4 separate regions of the Homo sapiens genome follow, and all the other regions are linked to region 4. Evidence: promoter capture Hi-C in human tissues and cell types (Jung and others, 2019). All regions are on one chromosome and are shown on one strand. The core of a region is centred on a gene start or on the middle of the fragment in contact, and the rest is flanking DNA. Distances in the headings are between cores, read along the strand shown.

Region 1 (3,365 bases), core at 145-2,644, 780 kb after region 4:
CACAGACCCTCTCCTGGCTGCCTTCTCCCTTTGCCTGGACTTATGTTCTCCTGACAAGGTGCCTGTGTCCACAGACTTGGGCTTCCTGTAGCCTTTTGGGGAGGCTACGTGGCGGTGGAAAGGATTGACTGACTTAAAAATGTTCTGGGTGGCCAGACACGGCGGCTCACGCCTGTAATCCCAGCACTTTGGGAGGCCGAGGTGGCAGATCACGAGGTCAGGAGATCGAGACCATCCTGGCTAACATGGTGAAACCCTGTCTTTATTAAAAATACAAAAATTAGCTGGGCGTGGTGGCAGGTGCCTGTAGTCCCAGTTACTTGGGAGGCTGAGGCAGGAGAATGGCGTGAACCCGGGAGGTGGAGCTTGCAGTGAGCCGAGATCGCGCCACTGCACTCCAGCCTGGGTGACAAAATGAGACCCCGTCTCAAAAAAAAGAAAAAAAAAATGCTCTGGGCCAGGCCAGGTGTGGTGGCTCACACCTGTGATCTCAGCACTTAGGGAGGCCGAGGCAGGTGGATTGCTTGAGCATAGGAGTTTGAGACCAGCCTGGGCAACATAGGAGACTCTGTGTCTACAGAAAGACAAAAAAAGATGTTTTAAATTAGCTGGGCATGGTTGCGCATGCCTGTGGTCTCAGCTACTAAGGAGGCTGAGGTGGGAGGCTGCAGTGAGCTATGATTGCACCACTGCACTCCAGCCTGGGGGAGAGTGAGACCCCTGTCTCAAAAAATAAAAATAGAAAGTTTTAGGCCTCCCCACCCCCACGGCCATCTGGCTAGTGTAGCCACTCTAAATCACACTCTCACAACCTACTCCTTTCACCTGCCCGCTCCTGGATTTCCTGTCAGAATTTTACAGGATTCTGCTCAGCAATGCCCTCTTCTGCCTGACCAGGAGAGCTCTGAGCAAAACACTCATGGACTTATTTGCAGAGACTGTAGCCATTCAACCAAGCCCAATCATGTCACAGGGATTTCCAATCTTTTCCCTCTCCCTAGATACTACAAGACCCACAAATTCACAAATTCTGTCTGAACCAACTCCAGTCCAAGTTTGTGCCCAGAGCCTTCCAAGGAATGTCTAATTCTGAGGCCTGAAATTCCATGGCTGTTCCTTTTTCTGCCCCAACCCTGCAGCCTTCACCCTGTGGAGAGGGAAGATCCAGCCTGTTTCCAGTCCCAGAAAGCCCTTCCATGGTCTGCACATATAGGCCCAACAAATGCTAGAATTAGATCCCCCAGCCCACTGCCAGAGGCCAGGGAAGCTGACCTGCTTCCTCCCTGGAAGAGGGTAGAACAAAAGGAGCCTGCACGTGGCTTCTGTCTGTCCTCGTCCTCCACGACCCCGTGCTACCCCCACACTCACAGCCCTCTTGGAGCTCCCCGCACCCCCGCCATCCACAGTGCCTCCCCCAGAAGATGGGCCCAGGCCTGGGTGCTTTCCTGCAGCCCTGGACCAGAATCAGCCTGATCTATGGGCTAGGGTTTTTGCAGCCAAAAAGCCTAAATCTCTAGACCCCAGTCCAGGAAGCCCCAGACCACAGTCAGGGGCCGTGGGAGGCTGAGCTATGAGGACAACCAAAACCCACAGTGGGATCTTGAGGGCTCCGGGGCTTCCCTGAAACATAGCTGTGAGTGGTGGCGCGTCTTGGGATGAGTAGGGGCAGAGCTGCTGGTGAGGCGGGGGACCTATCTACCCCCACACCTGGAAAAGGAGGAGTGTGCTCCATATGGGATTCTAGTCTTGGCTCCAGATCTAGATATTCAGCAACGTTTCTGGCTTAAGGGTACCCTAGAGCCCATATCCCCTAGTGTTGAACTGGAACTTATATCATCAATGGCTCAGGCAGATAAAACAAAATCTGACACAAAGATCGCAGGGGCCCGGAGAGCCTTAGAGTTTGTAACACCTGCTTTACCTCCAGGAAGACAGCCCTTTCTCCGGAGTCTCACCCTGATCAGAGCCTATTACAGGCGTTCCCAAATGCCCACTGGGATCCACGCTGCCCTCAGATGAGGCTGTGGCTGGCTGGGAAGCTGCTCGTGCTGTGCAGACAGAGCCTGAGTGAGACTGACGTTGGAGTGCCGCCCAAGAGAGGGTCCTTTGCCATGGGAAGATCCTGGAGATTTGTCCTGGCTGTAACAGTTCCCTGTAAGAGCCCTTGCAGTGCAGAAGCCAGGAAGAGAACTGAGAAGGTCAAGCCCGTCAATTTCACCCTCCAGGCTGGCAGTGCTATTGTTACTAGGTTAGAGGTGTTTCTCCTGGAAGCCCCTAGAACCTTCCTGGAGAGTAAGTACTTGGCAGGTGGGGAAGACATCCACCCACCTCTATCCCAGCCTAGCTTGGAACTCTGCTTCTGACACCCACAGACTGATTTTCTGATCCCACACCCAGTGACCATAAGGCCCAGGAGCTCAGACAGAGGAGATCTGGGCCTTGACATTGTATAGGCTTGAGCCCACTTCATCTCTCTCAACCTCAAGCCTCATCTTGAAAATGGGGCGATAACAGCACATGCCTCACAGGGTTGTTGGTCTTTAGCTAAATGCCAGGAAACTTTCTCAGAAACAGTAGACTTCAGTGCCGATTTTCTGACTCTAATTCTGAAGGTTAATCCTGGGGAGAGAGTACAGGCTTCACAGAGTCAGCACAACTGTCCTCTGGGTTTTGCAGGAAAGGCCTGGAGAGTCCCCCTGGGTTACTTTTAAAGATTACGTCTATATGATGCATTCTATTCTAGAGAAATGTGCTGGGTTTTAACAACTGGGACATGAGGCTGGAGGCCAGAATTTTTCCCCTAGGTCTGCCCCAAAGCTGCTGAGTTAGCTGCTTTGTGATTCAAAGTTCCAGTCCAGAGAAAAATACCAATTACTTCTCCTCTTTACAACTCACCGTATGATAACAAAAATCTTTCAAAATGTATGAAAACTTACAGTTTCTAAGTCCTTTTCACACCCAGGATCTCCTCCGATCCTCACAACAATCCTACAAGGTTGGCAAGCCAGGATTTTGTCCTCTTTTCATCGGGGAGCAGCCTGTAGCTCGCTCAGGAACCTACAACCCCTTGGCGACAGAGAGGCAGGCCCAGAGTACACATTTCCTACTTGCATCCACTGTTCTTTGTCTTTCTTCTTTCATTTCAAACTGAGACATTGATTTCGAACTTTTGCTACAGTCCTGTCTTTTGCAGTGTGGTTCATCACCTGCATTCAGCATCTGTGGTTAGGCTACTCAGAAGTCACTCATGCATGTCCTGGGAGACTGGCCTGGAGGGTGTCTCCCTGCACCCTCTGCACTGAGCAGTGCTGTCCAGGGCTCAGGAGGCCCGAGCCTCAACTTGGATAGGAGAACATAGCAGTGGT
Region 2 (3,107 bases), core at 104-2,603, 620 kb after region 4:
TTAGCGTGCTCAGCTCCAGGATTGTCCCATGCAGGCAATGACTGTTACATCTTTCCCTTCTTTGTAGTTTATTTTTGCCCAGATGGATCTGCATTCATTTGTACTATCTATTATAATATTGTTAGAATTCACTATTATACTGTAGAATTCATTAATTCTATTATATTGTAGAATTCACTAATTCTATAATATTGTACAATTCACATTATATATTATAACATTGTAGAATTCACCAATAATATTGTAAAAGTCACTAATAATTCATAAAAGGAATGAATTCATTTGTGATCTTATCAAAAAAAATTTAAAAAGAAAAAAGAGGCCGGGCACAGTAGCTCACGCCTGTAATCCCAGCACGTTGGGAGGCCGAGGTGCACAGATCACTTGAGGTCAGGAGTTCGAGACCAGACTGGCTAACATAGTGAAACTCCATCTCTACTAAAAATACAAAAATTAGCTGAATGTGGTGGCACAAGCCTGTAATCCCAGCTACTCGGGAGGCTGAGGCAGGAGAATCACTTGAACCCAGGAGGCAGAGGTTGCAGTGAGCTGGGATTTGTGCCACTGCACTCCAGCCTGGGCGACAGAGTGAGACTCCATCTCAAAAAAAAAAAAAAAAAGAAAGAAAGAAAGAAAGGGAGAAAGAAAGAAAGAAAGAGGCACTTGAATGAAAGTACTGTTTCTTAGCTCACATGGTTATAGGGTGAAATGAGGATTCGGAGAGGACAGGACTGAACAAAAATCAGTGTGGGGGCTTTGAGTCGTAAATAACTGTACCAGGGCTTAGCCCCAGTTAGACACATAACAAATCTGCAAGAGAGAATTTTGCCTAACTTGAATCACCAAAGGACAACTGTAAGTCAGCATTTCAGGCTCTGGAATATTACTTGCATACCCACTTGGTTTGAGAACTTGTGGAGTCTGAGAGATGGCAAGTCATGAGACTAGGAGCTCGGTTTTCTCAAAATGTGTCAGCGGTCACCTGCTTTGTAATCACTGTGAACTCCTCATTAAAAAGTAAAGTTCTGGACTCCTCCCCAGAATTTCTGCACAAGGAGACAGGAACTTTGCATCTTTTGCAAGGCTCCTGGGACAGCAGGGAGTTGGGAGGTAAATTTTTATGCACAGTCAAGTTTGAAATCCACTAGTCTGTACTTCCAGTCAAGCTCATGCAAAAATTGGTCCCAAAATATGTTTGCATTCTTATCTCCCATCAGCTCTCCTACACATTCTTTTTACAACACTTGCCCAAGGTGAGGACTCTTCTCCTGGACATTGATATGGAGGTTTCTCTGTCTATTCCCATGCCATTGGTTGCCTACCTTCTGCCTTTTCCGATCTCCAGCCTTAAAATGCTTTCCTGGAACTTAACCAACTAGATGTAACCATTTCTGAACATGCAAGGTTTTCATTTCCACATCTCTCATAGGATTGATCCTCACCACAACTGGTATTATCAAGTCACTGGCATCCTTGACACACTCCAGTACTGACAGGAACCCCTTGAAGACTGTGCGGGGTGCGGGGAGGTCACCCTTTTTTCTTTTCTTTTCTTTTCTTTTTTTTGAGACAGAGTCTCACTCTGTAGCCCAGGCTGGAGTGCAGTGGCGCCATCTTGGCTCACTGCAACCTCTGCCTCCTGGGTTCGCGCCATTCTCCTGCCTCGGCCTCCCGAGTAGCTGGGACTACAGGTGCCCGCCACCAAGCCCAGCTAATTTTTGTATTTTTAGTAGAGACGGGGTTTCACCGTGTTAGCCAGGATGATCTCGATCTCCTGACTGCAGGGAGGTCACCTTTAATTCGTCTTTGTCTTTTCTGTAGTGCTTATCATAATAGGTGAACCTATTGCTGCTCTGATAGTGAGGGGGATTTGGGGGGAGCCTGTGTCACTCTAGCACTATGTCTCCCCACAGTCATTGACTCACATACCCTTTGCTTGCCCCTTCGTGCACCTAGGACCTGAGACTATGTATGTATAAGAAGGAAGGAGGAGAACTTGGCTCTGAGAGACTATGAACAGAGTCATTGCTGAAATGTAAATATCAAAGATTGAAGGGAAAGATGTGAGAGTGAAGCCAGCTGTCTAGCTTCCAGCCGTAGAATGATCATAAGAGCTACTACACTCAAGGTCAAACACACTGACTCACCCATGAAAATTGCCAAGGAGTTTGAGTGGAAGTTCTCTGATATTCCAATGACTTTGAATGGGACACGGTAATTCCTTCCCACAGCCAGGGCTTACTTAAAATAAGTAAATGAATAAATAAAGTCTACTCCCTGGATCTTTTTTTTGCTCTTGTCCCTGCAGAGTAAGGGGATGCCAGCCAAGGCTGACATCATCATTATAGCAAGACAGGTGCTTTTTTTGAATACTTCACAAGGACAAGGGCCTGGTATTATGTAGGTCTTCAAAGAATATATATATATATAAATTTTTTTAATTCAGTCTCCTACATTTATAGTATGGGGAAATAAGACAAGAGCGAGGAATGCCTTGCTTGGGATATTGCAATTGGATGGCTGCACTGAGGACTATTTAAGCAACCTTAAAATCACAAACACACATCTGTGATGACTTTTTAATTATATCTGTCATTTTGGAAAAGATATTAAACATCTTCCTCAGAAGTTATTTTTACTTTACACACTCTTTAATAATGTTAAAAGATATTTGATGCAATTTATATTAATAAAGCTCATGGGACGTGTTAGTAAAAATAAAATTGAATCTTCTAAAATATATTCCTTTAAAAATGAATGTCTATAATTTTATGCTAGTTTAAGCAAATAATCTGAATAAATCCTGTTTGTTTAGCATAACACATGTACACGTAGTTTCTCCACAAAATGGAACGCGCTAAATGTGTTGGGGCCTCAGGAAAGAACTAGTGGAAGGGGGCATAGGAGGATTTGGGGGCAAAAGGAGGAATCCAAAAAGAAGGTCTTCATGGAGGAAGAGACCTGTCCCAATGTGTCATTCGGTAGATCTCACTTTCTCCTAGTACCTCATAGTCATTCATTTTTCACCCCCAACAGACAAGTGGAGACTGATATTATTCCCTTTTACAATGTAACAAAATCAAAGCTTAGAAAACCAGGGGGTTTGG
Region 3 (3,310 bases), core at 573-3,072, 520 kb after region 4:
TGCAATGTGGAATCTGGAGCCCAGAGATATTAAATACCTTGTACGAGAGTAGGTGTGCAAAGCTAAACTTTGAACCTAGGCATCTCTGACTTCAAAGTCTATGCTTTTTCCACCTCATAGAAAGACCATCCAGAAGATCAAGTGTTGGAACCTTCCGAGGCTGTGACATATTTATTACTTCAAAGTTTATTATCACAGGACATGCATGCTGCTTTAGCAACTAGAAGTGTGTGAATGAATATTACTATTGTGTTGCATAAGTCCTTGGCAATATTACTTTTTAGGTGCCATTCTAATCCTGCCCTGTTTGGAATAATTGTGATTACGAGGGCATAGGAGTAATTCAGAAATTTTTTGAAGAAATTTCTCCCACAGCATTAGCCTTAGTTATGAGTATAATACAAAAGAAGAGGACCAGCCCTGCTGGAAGGTAAATGAAAAGATGGAGGAATTGAACGATTACATAACAGCTGTTCAGACTTGTGGTACTGATTAGAGTCATTTGTAGAGATGAAGCAGTGTGTCAAGCCAGTGTGGGCTAGGGTATACTGGGAAGTTCTCACAGACAGAATGAAGTGGGTTGCGGCAAGCCCTGAGGTATGGCAAAATCTGGACAGCTAGCCTGGATCTTCATTTTTCATTAGTTGGCTTCCTTAACTGCTCAACAAGTAGACCAAACAAACAAACCACGCATACACACAAAGCAAAGAAGTAAATAAAGAATGGTGGGGCTAAGACTGTGAATAGCTCCTAGCAAATTAGAGAAATAGCTTCAAGTATATGCCTTCTGGATGATGTATGTTTGTATATGAAGGACAACACATCAAGGGGTGTTGGTAGTAATCTGTGCTAAGCTTAGAAGCCAGTATATCATTGTTCTAGTTCTATTTCTACTGTCGAGTGGCTTTATAGCCTTAGACAAGTCATGTAACCGTTCAGGCCCCAAATGTCCTTCTGGAATTACAGGGATTGAACTGGATGAATAAAAAGTTCTATTTCAACTCCAACATTTAATAATTCTAAAGTTCTTAGTGAGCTCTGATTGCTCATTTGCATTACATAGGCATATATTAACCATTTTAATATGTATCAGAAAAGGTATGTTCTTTTTCCTCAGAAATGTTGAAGCCTGACTTTGTTATAGAAAGCACCCAGGAATCATGTCTTCAGAGTTCCTAATTTTTAGTGTTTTCTTGTACTGCCCCGACTGCTGCAATCCTCTCTCTTACATTGGAATTCTGTTTTAAGTTTTGGTGATTGGAATCCTCTTTTTGATTTAAGAGAAAGAATCCTAGGGGTGAAAGATTACTATACTGGAAATGAAAGATTACTAGTCTCTAAATGAGAATTGGCTTTGGTCTGTAATAGATAAAAAGATTTTTAAGGGAAAAATATTAGAAAAGTGAAAACGTTTTTAAAAAAAATAGGTAGCAGTCACCACCGTATTCTGGTGGAATCGAATTCTTGAAGATTAGATTTGTGTATTCATGGAATAATCTAGACAAAATCCTGCCTTGCACATAGTGGGGAGATACACTAAAATACTGAAACAGCTACATTGTATTCAGGTGAAGCTACATAGATGTAAATAAAGGGCAGCCAGCGGGTACAAGCTGTCAATTAAGTGTTTTCAATAGTCTACTCCGTGTCGCCACATCTTAGGTAATTTAGATAGGTAGAAGACAGGTCATTAGCACTGAAGTTGAGAACACATTTGAACTCCAGAATGGGATTAATGCATCTCCAAAAAACGTGTATTTTCTAACCCTGTGCAAAAATTATATTTGAAAAGATTAAAACAAACAACAGTTTTCTTCGTTCTTTGTTATATGTCTTTGTACTTGAAAAAGGTAAAATTCTGCATTACGTTTTAAACAAATTGTGCCAGGGTAAAGGGTAAAATCTCCATCAACATCTAAAGGTCTTTCTTGTTCAGAAAATGAAGGCCCCTCTCCTGCATTAAAGACCAATGTGGCCTTATAGATCCTTATACAGAGGGAACAAAATGACATTAGACAGACTCTAAGGTGCCCTCAATTATTCCCACGTGGTGGTATTCATGCCTTTGTGTAATTGCCTCCCAATGAGTGTGGGAGGGACCTATGATTTCTAGCCAATAGAAACAGCAAAGGTCACATGTAGTCTTTGATGACTTGTGTGTGATTGTGTTATATAAGACTGTAACATTTGTTCTATGAGGGGACTTTCACCCTTGTAGGCTTTAAAGAAACAGGCTGCCATGTTGTCAGCTGCCACCTGGAGAGGTCCATGTGGTAAAGAGTGAGGGCACCTAGTAGCTGACAAGAAACTGAAGCCATCAGTTTAGCAGCCTGCAAGGAACCGACTGTTGACGACAATCATGCAAACTTGAAAGCAGATCCTTCCCCAGTCAATCCTCAGTTGAGACTGCCACCCCAGCCTAACTTTGCTTGTAGACAATGAGACCCTGAGGCAGAGGACCCATCTAAACCATACCTGCACTTGTGACCCACAGAAACTGTGGGATAATAAATGTATGTTGTTTTACTCTGCCAAGTCTTTATTGTTTTATAGATAGCTAATACAATTATGTTACTTTTAGAATCTAACATTTTCTTCACCTTTCGTTTTCTACATAATAGTTACTAAGTGAATGTGACTTGTTATCCCCATCCTCAAAATCATTAAGGGTCTTTTATTTAATATTTGATTTATCTGTGGCTTTGTGAAATTCATAAATCTGCTCCTCAGTTTCTGGTATCTCTTCAGGAGAGATGCCCTCTTACTCTACTGTATATGGAAGTTGAATAAGATTGAAACTGATAGAGAAATACTTGTTGAATCAAGTTGAATTACATGAAATGGGCTTCTTTAAAAGCTGTTATTAAATCTTCCTGTGGCTGTCCTAGAGATGATATAACAGAACTTCTGCTGGGAAATGGGAGAGGGGGAGGGAAGCGTTCCATGAGCTGCTCTGTCATTTGCATGCCAGTGAAATTAAGTTTGAATTTACATTAAGAGGAGTTTTGAAATTTAGGATCTATCTTACCAAATCACAATTCAGCCTAACAAATGTTATGGAAGTACAACAGGAGCCCGGACTGTCCATTGTCATCTAAATGATGGATGTGTTTAAGGTGTTTACATCAGTGCTGTTTCTCCCACCTACCCTAGGTCTGGGTGGTTGCCTGGGATTGTTTACTCAAAGACAGTAGCTTGACAATTTGGAAATGACAGAGGACGCTGATACTTGAAATCAAACTGTAGCCCTGGAATAGCCCAAACATGGTCCCAGGGTGGTCTTGCTTCTGACTTATGTGGAAACGGCCAA
Region 4 (3,063 bases), core at 157-2,656:
AAGTCTCAGGGTATGGAATGCTTTCCTGGCCATGGCTGCTGCGCGTCATAATCCCCTAACACAGTTAAGTGGTGGTTCTCATCGTCGTTCACCCTTACAGATGTCAGAGGGGAAAGAAAAATCCAACTCAAAACTTCCAATGACAGGCTTGTCTGTATTCAAACCAGTTCATCTCGTTCGCAGACTTTTTTGAAGCTATAAGCACAGAGCAAGCTTTCTGGGCGGGGCTCAGAAGTAAACGTTAAACTCCAGGGATTCATTTATTTGAGCACAGGACAGAGGAAGTTGCCCTGAAGCAACTGATTGTCATTGATATTCAGGGCTCGCTGTCAACCAGGACCTTCCAGGAACTGGCTCTGGGCCAAGAGCAGTAGAAATCACTGGGTGGTCCGCACAGCTCGCGGGCATCTAACCTGCTTCAAGGCTCAGGGCTAAAAGGGAGCCAGGGCCCTTCCTGGAGGCGGGAACCCAAGTGGGAGGCAGAGCGCCTGGGCCCGCTCCTCGATCTGCTGAGTGACGACCCTGTACAAGTCATTTCTCTTCCGAGAGCTTCAGTTTCCTCACGTGCCAAGCGGACGGGTTGGAAGTTGGTCTTTGCCAGCTCTGACACCTTGTAAGTTTTGAGTCTTGCTGGGAATCCAGGGCGGGGCTCACGAGGAAAATCTTGGAAGGGGATTTCATGGCTGGATCTCTTCCACTCAAGCTCAGTGCCCTAATTTGACGCCTTAATAGTAGACGCAGGCTTTTCCATTTTCCAGGAGCCCCCTGACGCGGCCGCTTCCTCCTACGTCTCCTTCCTCTTCCTCTAGCAGGGGCAAAGTCTCCACATCTCCCTCTTTCTCTTCCTCCTTTGCAAGCTCCCTGCATTCCCGCGTCTCCTCCTCTTCCTCCCAGGAAATGCAATGCCCTCAGTGCGCCCACCTTTTGGCAAAGCCACTGCCGGCTGCGGGTTTCCCCTCCCCCGCCAGGCGAGCTCTGCGCGGCGGCTTCGCGGGCACACGCCTTCCCATACCTTACATGGACAAATGCGTGCAGGCAAAGTCAGGAATTCAGGCCCCTGACGTCAGCCTCCAGCGCTCAGGGCACCGCACGGGAGACCAAGGGGAGGGGGTGGGGACGGTGGGGAGGAAGGAGGGGGAAAGGCACCAACCAGCAGCCGCTCCAGCCCTGCCGAAGTTTCACTTTTTGTCTGTGGGTTCGTTCCCGGGTCCCGCGCGAGCTTTCCCGGGATAAGTAGCTTTAGCGATCGGGAGACAGCCGGGCGCTGCAAGGTAAGGGCTGGCTGCACGGCCCGGGGCGCGGGGCGTGGGGCGCTGGGCGCGGGCGGCGCGCTCGAGGAGGCCAGTGTGGGGCGCGGGGCCGGGCCTGTCCGGGGCTGGGGACAATGGGAGGGGGAGTGCCCGGGCACCTCCTCCTCTGCCTCTGCCTCCGCCTCCAGCCGCCGCCGCCGCCGCCGCCGCCGCCACCACCACCGCCGCTGCCCCGGCTGCCTCCTCCCTGAGGTATTGTTGCAAATCCTTCCTTCCCCTCACCCTCCACCCGCGGGCGCCTCGGGAACCCCCAGCCCTCCCCCGGCGCGAGCGCCTCCGGGGTGGCAAGAGCGCAGGGCGCGCGCCCTGCTCTGGCCTGGCCCGCTGTGCGGAAGTGCCGGCCGCGGCCCAATCACGGGGTGCACGCCATGGGGGAGGGGGACCCAGAGTTTTTCCAAAAGCGTCGACCCCAGGCTAGGCGGGGTTGGAGCCTTGCGCGCCCCCTGCCCGGACTTTTCTGGGCGCCCAGGGGGCGGGGCCACGCCCATCCGCTTAGAGCTTTCGCGGAATCACAGTTGTCACAGCGGAAAGGGCCTAGACCCAGTCCTCCAAGTCCTCCCATTTTACAGTTGGGGCAGCTGAGGCCCAGAGAGAAGGAGGGTCGCCCGGAAGTTATTTACTAGAGGCCAGACCATAATTCAAATAGTTGGCTCCGGACTTAAGTTCCCTTTCTCTAAGCATTTCTCTAGCACCCTGTGTGTGGCAGACCCTGTGCTGGGTGTATTGGACGTTGCCCTCAAGGAACTCAGTTGAACCTGGGAGTCAAACCTGGCCTAGGGTAGAAAATGCTAAGTGCTGGAGCAAAGGCGTGGACAAAGTTAAAGGAAGTTCCAGGGAGGGGGTTTGATTTTCTGGTCCCTGGGACGGCCTTTTGGAGAGTCCTGCACTGAATGGGGTTTTTGGAGGTTGAGGAGTTTCCTGAAGCCAGCTAGCGGCTTGGAGGAAGACATCTCTTCGAGGGAACCGTGGGCCAGAGAAGACTAAGTAGTGTGGGAAATGGAGATGAAAGTATAAATATTCTTTAGTTGGAGGCAAGGGGTTGGGGATGGGGGAGGTTGTGATATGAGATGAGCTAATCAGTGGAATTGTGCCTGGGTGCTTGGACAGGGCAGAGTCTTTGGAACCTCGGAGTCGTAGGAGAACTGAAAAATCTCTCTGGCTTCCCTTCCCTTAGAAGGGATCCACTGCTTTCCCTCCCCCAACACAAAACAACTAGCGAGAACTCAGGGTCTTCTCTGGGGCTTTTGCTAGTACCAAACTCACTTAACTGTGTTTCCAGTCCCCTTTCTCTTTCCATTCCTTCCCCTTTTACTAAATCTCTTGCCTTTCCTGTAAAATTCACTCTCACTAAGGTGTTGATGACTTAATGGCTTACCTTTCCCTGCACATGTGCATTTTAAGAAAGCCTAAAGTGAAGAAGGGGAAAGTGTGGCTAGGCACCTTTACAAAGCATCTAGCTCCCTCTCCCATCCTCCCCCTTCCTCAACTCTTATAGATAGAAGAATAGGTAAAGGTCCACGAAGGTGGGTGCTAGACCTAGAGCCTATGGTCAATAATGGTGGACAGTGGGGGGTTAGGACATCCAATATGGTTTTCTCCACTTCGTCACCAGTTTTTCTGCTTGCACAGTTCCTGCCAGCACCAGGGGGCAGTTAAAGGAAAAAGTGTGTGGGCCAGGCACGGTGGCTCACGCCTGTAATCCCAGCACTTTGGGAGGCCAAGGCGGGCGGATTGCCTGAGCTCAGGAGTTAGA

Evidence for each region. Contacts are between HindIII fragments. The study calls those that stand out against the background at their distance.
Region 1: a fragment that was not itself captured here is called in contact with the fragment with the promoter of LPP in region 4 in 2 of the 25 tissues and cell types used here (hippocampus and liver).
Region 2: a contact is called between a fragment that was not itself captured here and the fragment with the promoter of LPP in region 4, in 1 of the 25 tissues and cell types used here (aorta).
Region 3: a fragment that was not itself captured here is called in contact with the fragment with the promoter of LPP in region 4 in 4 of the 25 tissues and cell types used here (IMR-90 fibroblasts, aorta, heart left ventricle and 1 more).

What each region holds. Positions count from the first base shown.
Region 1 is chr3:188,928,469-188,931,833 of GRCh38, forward strand. No RefSeq gene overlaps it. Among named protein-coding and RNA genes, the nearest start is that of TPRG1-AS1, 17 kb to the right of the region's middle. The HindIII fragment of the contact is 5,790 bases long and covers 1-3,365 here.
Region 2 is chr3:188,770,947-188,774,053 of GRCh38, forward strand. The region is part of intron 9 of LPP (LIM domain containing preferred translocation partner in lipoma); the gene reads left to right. Among named protein-coding and RNA genes, the nearest start is that of MIR28, 84 kb to the left of the region's middle. The HindIII fragment of the contact is 7,685 bases long and covers 1-3,107 here.
Region 3 is chr3:188,674,709-188,678,018 of GRCh38, forward strand. All of the region lies in intron 7 of LPP (LIM domain containing preferred translocation partner in lipoma), which reads left to right. Among named protein-coding and RNA genes, the nearest start is that of MIR28, 12 kb to the right of the region's middle. The HindIII fragment of the contact is 8,330 bases long and covers 1-3,310 here.
Region 4 is chr3:188,152,751-188,155,813 of GRCh38, forward strand. LPP (LIM domain containing preferred translocation partner in lipoma) reads left to right here and starts at 1,407. Exons shown (of 12, transcript NM_001375462.1): 1 at 1,407-1,502. It overlaps LPP-AS2 (LPP antisense RNA 2), which reads right to left and starts at 1,338. Exons shown (of 1, transcript NR_036497.1): 1 at 1-1,338. RefSeq lists enhancers at 1-842, 2,642-3,063 and a silencer at 1,275-1,614. The HindIII fragment of the contact is 14,765 bases long and covers 1-3,063 here.